Regions from separate parts of the Homo sapiens genome. Here region 1 is linked to region 2. The links are contacts of gene promoters, found by promoter capture Hi-C in blood cells and fetal thymus (Javierre and others, 2016). All regions are on one chromosome and are shown on one strand. Each heading gives the region's core, a stretch centred on a gene start or on the middle of the fragment in contact. The rest is flanking DNA. Distances are from core to core; before and after follow the strand shown.

Region 1 (6,091 bases), core at 1,308-3,807, 66 kb after region 2:
CACAGCCTCTTTTAAGGACACATGTAGGCCTGGGTGGAAGATGCACAAGTGAGGACCAGGCTCTTTGTGGTCAAACATGCCATCCTGTTCCAGGGAAGGTGGATAAGTCCTGAAGCTGGGCTGGGGTACTTAGTGCTGTCAACTCCCCCAGCAGCCCACTCATGCTGCCCCTCACATGCTAGGAGCTCCTGTCCTGGGCTCCCCAGTCCACTGACTTCTCAAAATCAGCATTCTCTGGCTTCTATGAAATCAGATGGATGTCTAGCTGGAGACAGGACCTGAGCTGGAAGACCTAGGAAGACAAGCCCAGGCTTCCATCAGGGGAGAAGGAAGCAGAGGGTCTGGGATGGAGGCACCAGGAAGAGTGTGGGGTTAATGGGCACCCTCTCAGGATGTTTCAGGTGTCCTGTGACTGTGAAGGTAATGGGTTTTCAGCACACCCTCATCTTCTTCCTACATTTGTTCTGCGAGATGCACTGATCTCACCAGACATCATCAAGGAAGGTTTACCCAAACAGGCTTATTCTCCTCTGTGATTACATGGAGATAAGATACCTGAGGGGCCCAGTTAGAAAAGACTCAGCATCCTTTTCTAGTAGGAGACCAGAGAAAAACGCATTTTTCCAAGGTAAACTAACTCCAAGTAACTTTTCATTTCTTCCGTGTATTTCTTAGTTCAGTAGGAGAGCATGGGGTCTATGACACCCATCACAGAAGAGATATTGACAGAGGTTTGTGCATTACAAGCACATCTGATTCTATTGATGTCTTCTGAGATGCCCTCCAGCAAAACCAGCAGCAGTGATAACCCCCAAAGCCTTCAAAGTGCACACCCCAGTACTAAGCCTCATACCCACCTCCAGCCTTTCCCTGCAGCCCCAGTTCAGGGGTCACTTTAACTTTAGTGGGGCACTGCTGCTTGACCTATCAAAGGCCCCATCTTTTCTACTGGCACAGGCACCACAGCCTCTACTGCTGTGAGTGAGCCTGCCAGGGGCTCCAGCCATTGCTAGAGAATTACTGCTGACCTTGGCAGTACATTGAGATGAGCAATTTTAAAGGAACCAGAGACCAAAGTGCCCAGGATTAACCTCAGTCTGATGTACCCACTCCTAACCTCCTGCCCATGGTCTGAGCTCCTGAGTTCATCCTGAAGAGGGTTGTCAGTGATCTCCAGCGGTCTCCCTGGGTGTCCCTCATGGTTGTCTCCACACCCATGTTCTGTTCAGTGCTTAGCAGCACTTATGTCTCACTCTGTGAAAAATAAAGCTTCTCTTCTCCACCTACATTTCTATTTTGCCCCTCCCAAAGCTGCTCCATTGCTCTTCCCCTTCTTATCTCCCAGGCTGAGTGCCTCACAGGACAAGAAGAATGAGAAATGTCACTTATCTCCATTCATAGGGAGACCGTGAGGAGTTTATGTGTTAGGACTGGAAAGAGGTTGCAGAAGGACACACGGCTGCAGAGAAAACATTCATATTATTTCTATAGGGAAGATCTGGGTGTTGACGGGGTAGGAAGGGATCCTTGAAAGCTAATTAGGTGACAGGTGCAAAGAGAGAAATGGAGGTGTTTGCAAGGGCATATACTGAGAGGAACTTAGGGAAAGGGGAAAAAATGAGATCATTTCAGGAGTTGCAAATTGGATATGTATTCATAGGATCTATAATTTATATAGGACTCATAATGTACCAGTGGCTTGACATACAGTAAATAACTTAATCCTCACTGCAGTCCTTTGAGTTAGATACTAGCCTTCTCCCATTTTACAGAGGGGAATCAATGTAGAATGGGTGCCCAAGGTCTCCCAGAAGCTGCCGTGCAAACCCAGACAGTTTCACTGACCACATGCTCCTGACCACCATGGTACCCTGAATTCCTCTAAAATGTTTTAAGAAATATGAAAAAAAAAAAAAAGGATCCCTAGACCTGGGCACAGAGACCTAGCTGTGCCTGTGGAGTCAGATCTGTGCTCCAAAGTACCACCAGAACTCCTGCTGTCAGTGAATTACCCCAAGATGTAGAAAGGTGGCACCAGAATCAACTAAGAAAGTTTGGGTTGAGACATTAGTACAGTTCATGGGAGCCAGAAGTTATGGCAGTGGTGACCCGCCACTGGAAGCTGATTCCTACAAGTGAGGTCTCAGTAAGTGTGAAGACAGACTTTTCAGTCCTCATCAGGGGACTTCTAGGCCAAGCCTCATTCATTCAAAAATTTATTCATTCACTACATACTTATTTGGCACTGGTCTAGGTACTTGGATCAGTTTGAAACAAGACAAAGTCCCCTCTCAGGGAGCTTATGTTCCAGGGGCCCATTGGAGGCATCTTCTGGCTTCCTTGCTTGGCAGCAGATTTAGACAAAGGTGGCTCTATATTCAATTGGATTCCCACTCTGGGGCACTTGACAGATGCTGGTAAAGAGTAGCTAAACCCAGTGAAGGCACCCATCATGGGCAAACTTTTGACATTGGATATCATTGTCTTAGTGGATACAAAAAGGACATCTAATATCTGCTTGCTTCCACACCCAAGGTAAGAGTTTAGTGAGGCAAGGAATAGGTGGTTATTCCAACCATGAAATGTTTGTTTGAAAGTTGAAAAGTCCTCGTCCTTTCCCAGTCTCATTCTCAGGGAACAACCCCATTCACCCAAGTGTCTTGAAAGTGCTTTTGTTTCCTACTTGGCTATAATGTATGTGAGCAAATAAAAAAGATGGCCACACCTACAGACTTCCCTGTATCAGGATACTCAGACATGTTTAATGTAATAATAGTGTTTTTAAAATACCTATTAATAATTTTTTGAATAATGATTTTATTATATTATTTCAACTTTTATTTTACATTCAGCAAACAGAGAGAATTTGGCATCCTCTTTTCCTATTTGGATGCCTTGTATTCTTTCTCTTGGCTGATTGCACTGACTAGGACTTCTAGCACTATGTTGAATAGGTGTGGTAAGAGTGAGAATTAATGTCTTGTTCCTGTTCTTAAGGGGATGTTTCCAGCTTTTGCCCCTTCAGTATGATGTTGGCTGTGGGTTTGTCATAGACGGCTCTCATTATTTTGAGGTATGTTCCTTGAATACCTAGTTTGTTGAGGATTTTTATTATGAAACAATGATGGATTACATCAAAAGTTTTTTCTGTATCTATTGAGATTATCATATGGTTTTTGTTTTTAATTCCATTTAGCTGGTGAATCACATTTATTGATTTGCTTTTTGTTGAACCAACTCTGCATTCCAGGAATAAAGCCTACAAACTTGATCATGGTGCATTAGCTTTTTGAGCTACTGCTGCATTCAGTTTGTTTGTTAAGGATTTTTGCATCTGTTTCATCAGGGATATTTGCAATAGTTTTCCTTTTCATTGTCTCTTTTCCAGATTTTGGTATCAAAATGATACTGGGTTTGTAGAATGAGGTTGAGAGGAGCCCCTCATCCTCGTTTTTTTTGTAATAGTTTCAGTGGGATTGGTACCAGCTCTTCTCTGTACCTTTAGTATAATTTGGCTGTGAATCCCTCTGGTCCTGGGCTCATTTTGGTTGGTAAGTTTTTTTGTTATTGATTCAATTCTGGAACTCAATATTGGTCTGTTCAGGGTTTTGGTTTGTTCCTGATTCAGTCTTAGGGGGTTGTGTGTTTCTAGGAATGTATTCATTTTCTCTAGTTTATCTAGCTTGTGTGCATAGAGGTGGTCATAATAGTATCTGAGGATCTTTTATTTTTCTATGGGCTGGGTCATAATGTCAGCTTTGTCATTTGTAATTGTACTTTTCTTTCTTTGCTAATCTAGCTAGCAGTCTATTGATCTTGTTTATCCTTTCAAACAACAAGCTTTTGGTTTTATTGATCCTTTGGATGAATTTTTAGGTCTCTTCTATTTGATTTTGCTCTGATTTTAAGTATTTATTTTCTTCTCCTAGCTTTGGGGCTAGTTTTTCCTGCTTCCTGGTTCCTTTAGGGATGAAGTTAGATTGTTAATTTGAGATCTTTCTAACTTCTTTATGTAGACATTTAGTGCTATAAACTTTCCTCTTACCACTGCTTTTGCTGCATGCCAGATATTTTGGTATGTTGTGTGTCTGTTTTCATTTATTTCAAAGAATTGTTTGACTTATGCTTTAATTTTACTGTTCACCCAAAAGTCATTTGGGAACAAGTTGTTTAATTTCCAACTCATGTTGTAGTTTTTAAGAAATCTTTTTATATTGATTTCCATTTTATTCCACTATGATCAGAAAGTATGATTGGCATAATTTTAATGATTTTGAACATATTGAGACTTGCTTTATGGCCAAGCATGTATTCAATCCTAGAGTATGTTCTACACGCAAATAAGAAGATGTATTCTGTTGTTGATGGGTGGAGGGATCTGTAGATGTCTATTGGGTCCAATTGGTCAAATGTTGATTTTAAGTCCAGAATTGCTAGTTTTCTACCTTGATGCTCTGTCTAATGCTGTCAGTGGGGTATTGAAGTCCCCCACTATTATTGTATGGCTATCTAAGTCTTTTAATAGGTCTAGAAGTACTTGTTTTATAAATTTAAGTGTTCCAATGTTGGATGCATATATATCTAGGATAGTTAAATCTTCATGTTGAACTATAGTTTATGTAGTGCCCTTCTTTGCCCTTCTTTACTTGTTGATTTAAAGTCTGTTTTATCTGATATGCGTATATATATATATATATATATATATATATATATATATATATCCCTGTTCTTTTTTGTTTTTAGTTTACGTGATAGATCTTTCTCTAACCCATTTACTTTGAGACTATAGGTGTCATTACATATGAAATTAGTCTCTTGAAGACAGTATACAAATGGGTCTTGTTTTTTTTTTCCAATTTGCAGCTTTGTGCTATTTATGTGGGGCATTAGATCATTTACATTCAAGGTTAATATTGATATGTGAAGTTTTAATCCTCTTGTGAAGTTGATGGCTGATGGCTTTGTTGTTTCCATTGCATGGTTGCTGTATAGGGACTGTGGACTATGTATTTACATGTGATTTTGTGGTTGCACATGTTGTTCTTTCGTTTCTATGTTTATAAATCTCTTAAGGATCTTTTTTAAGGCTGGTCTAGTGGTAACAAATTAGTGATTGCTTGTTTGGAAAAGTTTTCGTTTCTCCTTTGCTTATGAAGTTCAGTTCGATGGGATATAAAATTCTTGCATGGAATTTCTTTCCTTTAGGAATGCTGTAAATGTGCCCCCAATTTCTTCTGGCTTGTAAGGTTTCTCATGAGTAATCCTCTGTTAGCCTGATGGGCTTCCCTTTGTACATGGTTTGACCTTTTTCTCTAACTGGCTTTAAGATTTTTTTCTTTAGCATTGACCTTTGACAGTCTGTGGCTATATGCCTTGGTGATGTTCATTTTGTACAGTATCTGCGAAGTGTTCTCTGGTTTTCCTATATCTGGATGTCTATCCCTCTAGCAAGATTAAGAAAATTTTCTTGAATTAATCCCTCATATATATTTTCCAAATTGTTGAGTCCTTCTCCTTCTCTCTCAGAAATGCCAATAATTCATAGGTTTGATCACTTTACAAAATTCCATATTTCTCAAAAACTTTGTTAATTTCTTAAATTCTTTTTCTTCATATTCTTCATTCAGACTAACACAGTCTGAGTGGGTTAGTTTGAGCCAAGATGGCTGAACAGGAACAGCTCCAGTCTACAGCTCCCAGTGTGAGCAATGCAGAAGATGAATGATTTCTGCATTTCCAACTGAGGTATCGGGTGCATCTCACTGGGGATTGTTGGGCAGTGGGTGCAGGATAGTGGGTGCAGTGCACCAAGCCTGAGCTGAAGCAGGGCGAGGCATCACCTCATGCGGGAAGTGCAAGGGGTCGGGGAATGCCCTTTCCTAGGGGTGATGGACGGCACCTGGAAAATCAGGTCACTCCCACCCTAATACTGCACTTTTCTGATGGTCTAAGCAAAAGGCACACCAGGAGATTATATCCCGTGCATGGCTCAGAAGGTCCTACGCCCACAGAGCCTCACTATTGCTAGCACAGCAGTCTAAGATCAAACTGCAAGGCAGCAACGAGGCTTGGGGAGGGGCGCCTGCCATTG
Region 2 (5,408 bases), core at 2,830-5,329:
TTCTATGCTCCTAATCATTAGGAGAGTTAATAACATAATCTTGGCTAATTCATATCCTCCATCTTGCACAGACAATGAGTCACTAAGTCTTGAATATGCTTTTCTACAAATCCATTCTGTTCTGTCAGTCCCCTGGCCAGCAACTGATCTCCCTTCCTCCTGCCCTCTTTCAAATAAGTTAAAGGAGAGGGTGTGACTAGATGTTTCCTAAGAAGGGACAGACACATGGATACCTGGAGTCATATAATCTCTAATCCAATGACGGGCTTCTTGGGAATCCCCAGGCTGCTCAGTGGGGACTAAGCCTGAGGAAAGGGTGTTCCTTGGCAAAACTTCATCTCCTCATTGGCAACAAAAAGCAACCACTTGGGAGTTTCCATGGGGCCACCACAGGAGGAATGAGCAAGCACAGGATGCCAGGAAGAGCCTTTACCTGCCCTGCAAGTGTAAGAGGCTTGACCTGCTCCACCGATAGCCATATCACACCTCAGAGCCCAGCCCTGGATCTCCCAGGAAAGGGAGCTTCATCACAAGCCTTTCCTCCAGTCTGCCTCCACAGGTAGGAGTTCTTGTCTGAAACTAGGGAAGTTTCACTGTGGCAGGATTCATAAGTCTTAGAAGAAAAGGTGAAAATGATGGAACAAGAAAAAAAAAAGGAAAGAGATTGGAGAATAAAGAGACGTCCAGACAGAGAAGGAACCGGCCCTGGAATTGTATAGCCTTAAAGGCCAAGGCAAAGTGACTCTCAGCCCAGCCACTATTCAACCTCCCTTGGCTGAGTTTCTGCAAGTAGCCGAGAGCTTGGCCCGGGCCATGTATATCTATGAATACATGTATATGGCTACCTATCTATACTTATCTAGAGAAAAAGAAATCTTAAAGAAATTAATCTGGGTAAAAAATTTTCTTTCTGAAACTTGTTTATTTTACCTATATATTGTCTACAAAATGTGATTTTAATTTCAAAAGGAAACATTTTTTATTATTATTTGATGCATCTGAATAGGTGCTAAATAGATCCTGCTGAGATAAGCTGCCAATAAAGCCATCAGCCATACCAAACACCTATCAAGTGCTTCACTCCTAAGTAATTCACCAAGTGCGTTCTAAAGTGACTACCTTTGACCAGCTCCAAGTCCTCTTCCAGGCTCATCTCACCATGGCTCCAGCTCTAGGAGCAGCTCAGATGCCTGAGCTGATCCCACCAGTGTTACTACCTATGGTCATGGTATTGCAGTGGTCAGTGGTGGGAGCTTCCGTTGCTGCCACAGGTCAGTAGGACTGCTGCTGATCTGGGCCTGGCAGTCTCAGAAGAAGAGCATTAGGTGAACCAACAATTCAAGAGATAAGTACTTTCCCTGCTCTGAAGGTATCACAGCCCATTCTCCTCAACCTTTTGGGCTGTGTCTGGAAAAGGCATTTGGTTCAGACAAGGATTAAGTCTGCAGGAGGCCCAGATTTCACTAACAGCATGCTTCCCTCAAGGTGATCCCCTCCTGTCCTTCTCTCACACCCATTCCACCAGCAAAGTCAGTGCAGCAGTGCGAAGAGATCTATGTTTCCTTTACGCTCTTCTCATTCACAACACCCAGTGTGGCATTTCAAAAGTGCCCATTCACATCCTTTGCAATTGTCTCTTTTTATTATTATATCCTCTGAGGGAAGGAAGTAGGAGTACTTAAGGATATAAGGGCAAAGTTACTTCCAGCATAGCTCTGACACTAAAACTTAACAAAGCCTTGAGGACCCCATTCAGCATGTTCCTAAAAACATGCTTCTGGCACACCTGTCCTAGCCTTTCACCAGCTTTCCACCAGGAATTCCCACTCTTCCATTCATAATTCTGCAGAACTATTTTTTTTTTTTGAGACAGTCTTGCTCTGTCACCCAAGCTGGAGTGCAGTTGCGCGATCTCAGCTCATTGCAACCTCTGCCTCCCCAGCTCAAGCGATTCTCCTGCCTCAGCCTCCCGAGTAGCTAGGATTACAGATGCCCACCACCACACCCAGCTAATTTTTGTATTTTTAGTAGAGACGGGGTTTTGCCGTGTTGAACAGGCTGGTCTTGAACTCCTGACCTCATAGAACTCTTAAAAGAATGCATGGTATTGCAGTTTGTTCAAAGTGGAGTGATAGGCAAAGGGGAAGAAGGAACTAATATCCTCTAGCAGTGTATTTTGTACCAAAGAACAAGCATCTTCAGGCTTTCATATACTCTGATCAAAATAACATTTTGCTTAAAATTACAATATAATTTAAATTCATGATTATTAGAAACTTAATATTGTCTCAATTGTGATTATTTTCCTTGGAAGAATATATAGTATAATAAAGATTATTTTAAAATTCATTACAGTGGTTTTTATTTAGAGGCTATGGCATATTGTATTGTATTATTAGAGATGAATTCACTGATAAATTTATCACTGATATAACTAAAACCAAATAGTAAATAATATTCCATTTTTATGAATTCATCATATACAAACTTCAAGCATTATCACAGGTATTCATTAAGTGAAATGCATACAACCCCATCAACCTCATCATTATCAACAAATTCAAAGAAATTTTAATGAATTACTAACATAATATATAGGATTAAATTCAGCCTTGCACATTTCACAGACAGCCAAAAACGGATGCCCCTTTTTTCCCATTAAGTGTGATTTCTGTTGATCCCACAGATGGAGGTCACATTTTTATACCATCTGCACCTCCCTCCACTCTACCCCTCTGCCCCCACAGTGCCCAATGCCACCTTTAAGATGCCATGATATTCCCTGAAGACACTACCTCTCAAGCCATGGCCCCAGCTCCATTCTTCCACCCCTTACTCAACCCAGGTCCAGTGAGCTCAGTGCAGCCAACATCTCAGGACACAGGGGCTGATTCCATCACCTATGTAAAGGAATCCACAAAGCAATGGGGACTGACACCCAAAGGCAGTGACCCCAGCCTGCCATGTTTGTGCACACTTGTGCTGCGTCGCTTAGCACATAGGATGTGATTTAATTGCTCAGTTGTCCATCTGGCCTTCTGAAAAGCTGTGAGCTAGTCAAGGGGAGAAATGTGTTCTGTTTGTCCCCATATTACCAGGCCCCACAAAGGACGTACCCTGGCTTCAGAGCATGTGAGCTGAATGAAGAAAAAAAAGTGGAACAGCAGCCAGAGGGCCTGAACGGTGGATAATTGGACCGTCATCGAGATTTCCTGCTTCCCTTTTGTCATTCCTCAAAATATGCGCCTTAAGAATATGCTGAAAGCCTGGTCCTTGGGAGTGTGTGGTGCTTCCCCTCCCTTTGGGGAGCAAAGGAGGACACATAGTTGGGCTGTGCATCATAATACCCAGGATAAAAGGGCTGAGGCCCTGGGTTCCTCAGTCCACAATCACCTCAGGAAGAACCTTCTCCTGCCTCCACCAAACCAGGTGAGCGTCCAGCTGGCGAGAGGACCTGGGCTGAAAGGGCTGCGCAAACACGTCTGTGCTTCAACAAGGAGAGGGGAGGAGGCAGACACGGTGGAGGCGGCAGAGAGGCTGTGGTGGGTGGCCGGCTGGGACTGGGATGGGAGATGGGCGGGATAGTGAGGAAGACAGACAAGTCTGCGAGCCACTTCAGGGGCTCCGCGATGCTGCGACCTCTGAACCCCCTTTTCCTCATGTGCGCAGAGATGCGTTGCCTCCTCACACCCTGCGCTCACAGGCGTCCAGAGAGACGCCACCCTGGAGGGTCATGGGCGTTGTGTTCACGGGACGCCTGCAGGGGGAGCTGTTCGCATCGGGTCCGGAGGTGTGACAGGCCCCGCAGGGCGTGCGCAGGAGCCCCAGAGGCCCACCCAGGAGTGTCAGCTGCCTCCCAGGCAGGGGAGAGGGCCGGAGGAAGGGGCAGTATCAGGCCGGTTTAACTTCAGATCCGTTTGCATTCCCCTTCCCCAGGTCTTAGCTGGAGGGCAGACTGAGTTTAGGGGAAGGGATCCACAATTAAACCAAAGCATGAGGAGGCCCTGGCCTGAAACCTGCATTGACACGTATTTTGCTTTGCTTTTATTTTGCCCAGGCTCCCTGACCTCCTGCCTAGATGTCCTGCCAGCAGAACCAGCAGCAGTGCCAGCCTCCGCCCAAGTGCCCTGCAAAGAGCCCAGCACAGTGTCTGCCTCCAGCTTCCTCCAGCTGTGCCCCAAGCTCTGGGGGCTGTGGGCCCAGCTCCGAGCGCAGCTGCTGCCTGAGTCACCACAGATGCCGCAGGTCTCACCGTTGCCGTTGCCAGAGCTCCAACTCCTGTGACAGGGGAAGTGGTCAGCAAGGCGGGAGCTCCAGCTGTGGCCACAGTTCTGCGGGCTGCTGCTGACCTGAGCCACGAGATTAAGTAAAAATATTTGAGAAAAGAAAGTGCCAAAATGACTGGAACCAGCCCTAGCCTGGTGCTTCTTTGCTCCTGTCTCCTCTTTCCTACTGAGATGTTCCTTGATGAGTTTCAAGTACTCCCCCAGGGGATTTATCCTGCTGGTCTTAGTGTTTTCCCTCCTTCTTTAATATCCCTGTGCTGTGAAGAATAAAGCTGTGCTTTCTCGTTGCAAGCTCTGTCCAGTGCGTTCCCGTCTTTGCCTTACAGGGGCTGCCCCACATTGGGTACATAGGCCTATCTTAGGAACAGACACAAGTGGGTCATACACCCCTCAACTCACAAAACCCTTTTAGGGGGGTTGTATATTAGTGTGGGAATGAGGTGAGCAGTCTTTCACAAGGTCAAGGACAGAAGCATGAGTTGGAAATAAACACAGAGCTCTGGAAAACAAAGGGAATGAGCTTACTGGGCCCGTTCAGATCCTTCCGAAAACACTTTGGTAGCTCAGCCCTAGATGGCAGAGAAGAAGAGAAGCTCCAGATGGGAGCAGGTCCTTGGTCCTCTGGTTCCTCCAACTCTGATACTCTGTAGTCTTCATGACCCAGGACCACAGCAGCCCCCAGAGCTGTGGCAGCAACTGGAGCCTCCAGAATGCTCTGTTGGGCATGTCAGTGGGATCTGTGGGCCCATGGTGACTCCGGTAGCAGCTTCCTGCAGAGCTGGAACCACAACAGAAATAGACTGGCAGCAAACAACCAAAAGGATACTTGAGGGTTAGGCACTTGGGAGGGGGCTGACAGTGCTGTTAGTTTTTCCTTTCAGGACATCTCAGCTCAGTGATCCCTGGAAGAAATGAAAAAGTAAATCATTGTTTTCTATCTATCTATCTATCTATCTATCTATCTATCTATCTATCTATCTATCTATCTCTATCTACCTATCTGTCTCCCCTTGTCCCTCACCGTCTTTCTCAGACCCTGACCCTATGACCCTAAGCTCACGTTTTTGCTAACCTAAGGGCAGCAGGGAAACAGGGCCTTGGGCAGGGATGAATTGGCTCAGA

What was found. The method cuts DNA at HindIII sites, captures the fragments that hold promoters and counts their contacts. A CHiCAGO score of 5 or more calls a contact.
Region 1: a fragment that was not itself captured here is called in contact with the fragment with the promoter of LCE3A in region 2 in 8 of 17 cell types (naive CD4 T cells, naive B cells, neutrophils and 5 more); the score reaches 6.4 in naive CD4 T cells.

What each region holds. Positions count from the first base shown.
Region 1 is chr1:152,553,482-152,559,572 of GRCh38, reverse strand. No RefSeq gene overlaps it. Among named protein-coding and RNA genes, the nearest start is that of LCE3E, 10 kb to the left of the region's middle. The HindIII fragment of the contact is 2,571 bases long and covers 1,272-3,842 here.
Region 2 is chr1:152,621,774-152,627,181 of GRCh38, reverse strand. LCE3A (late cornified envelope 3A) reads left to right here and starts at 4,079. Exons shown (of 1, transcript NM_178431.1): 1 at 4,079-4,348. The coding sequence starts at 4,079. The coding sequence ends at 4,348. The HindIII fragment of the contact is 6,916 bases long and covers 1-5,408 here.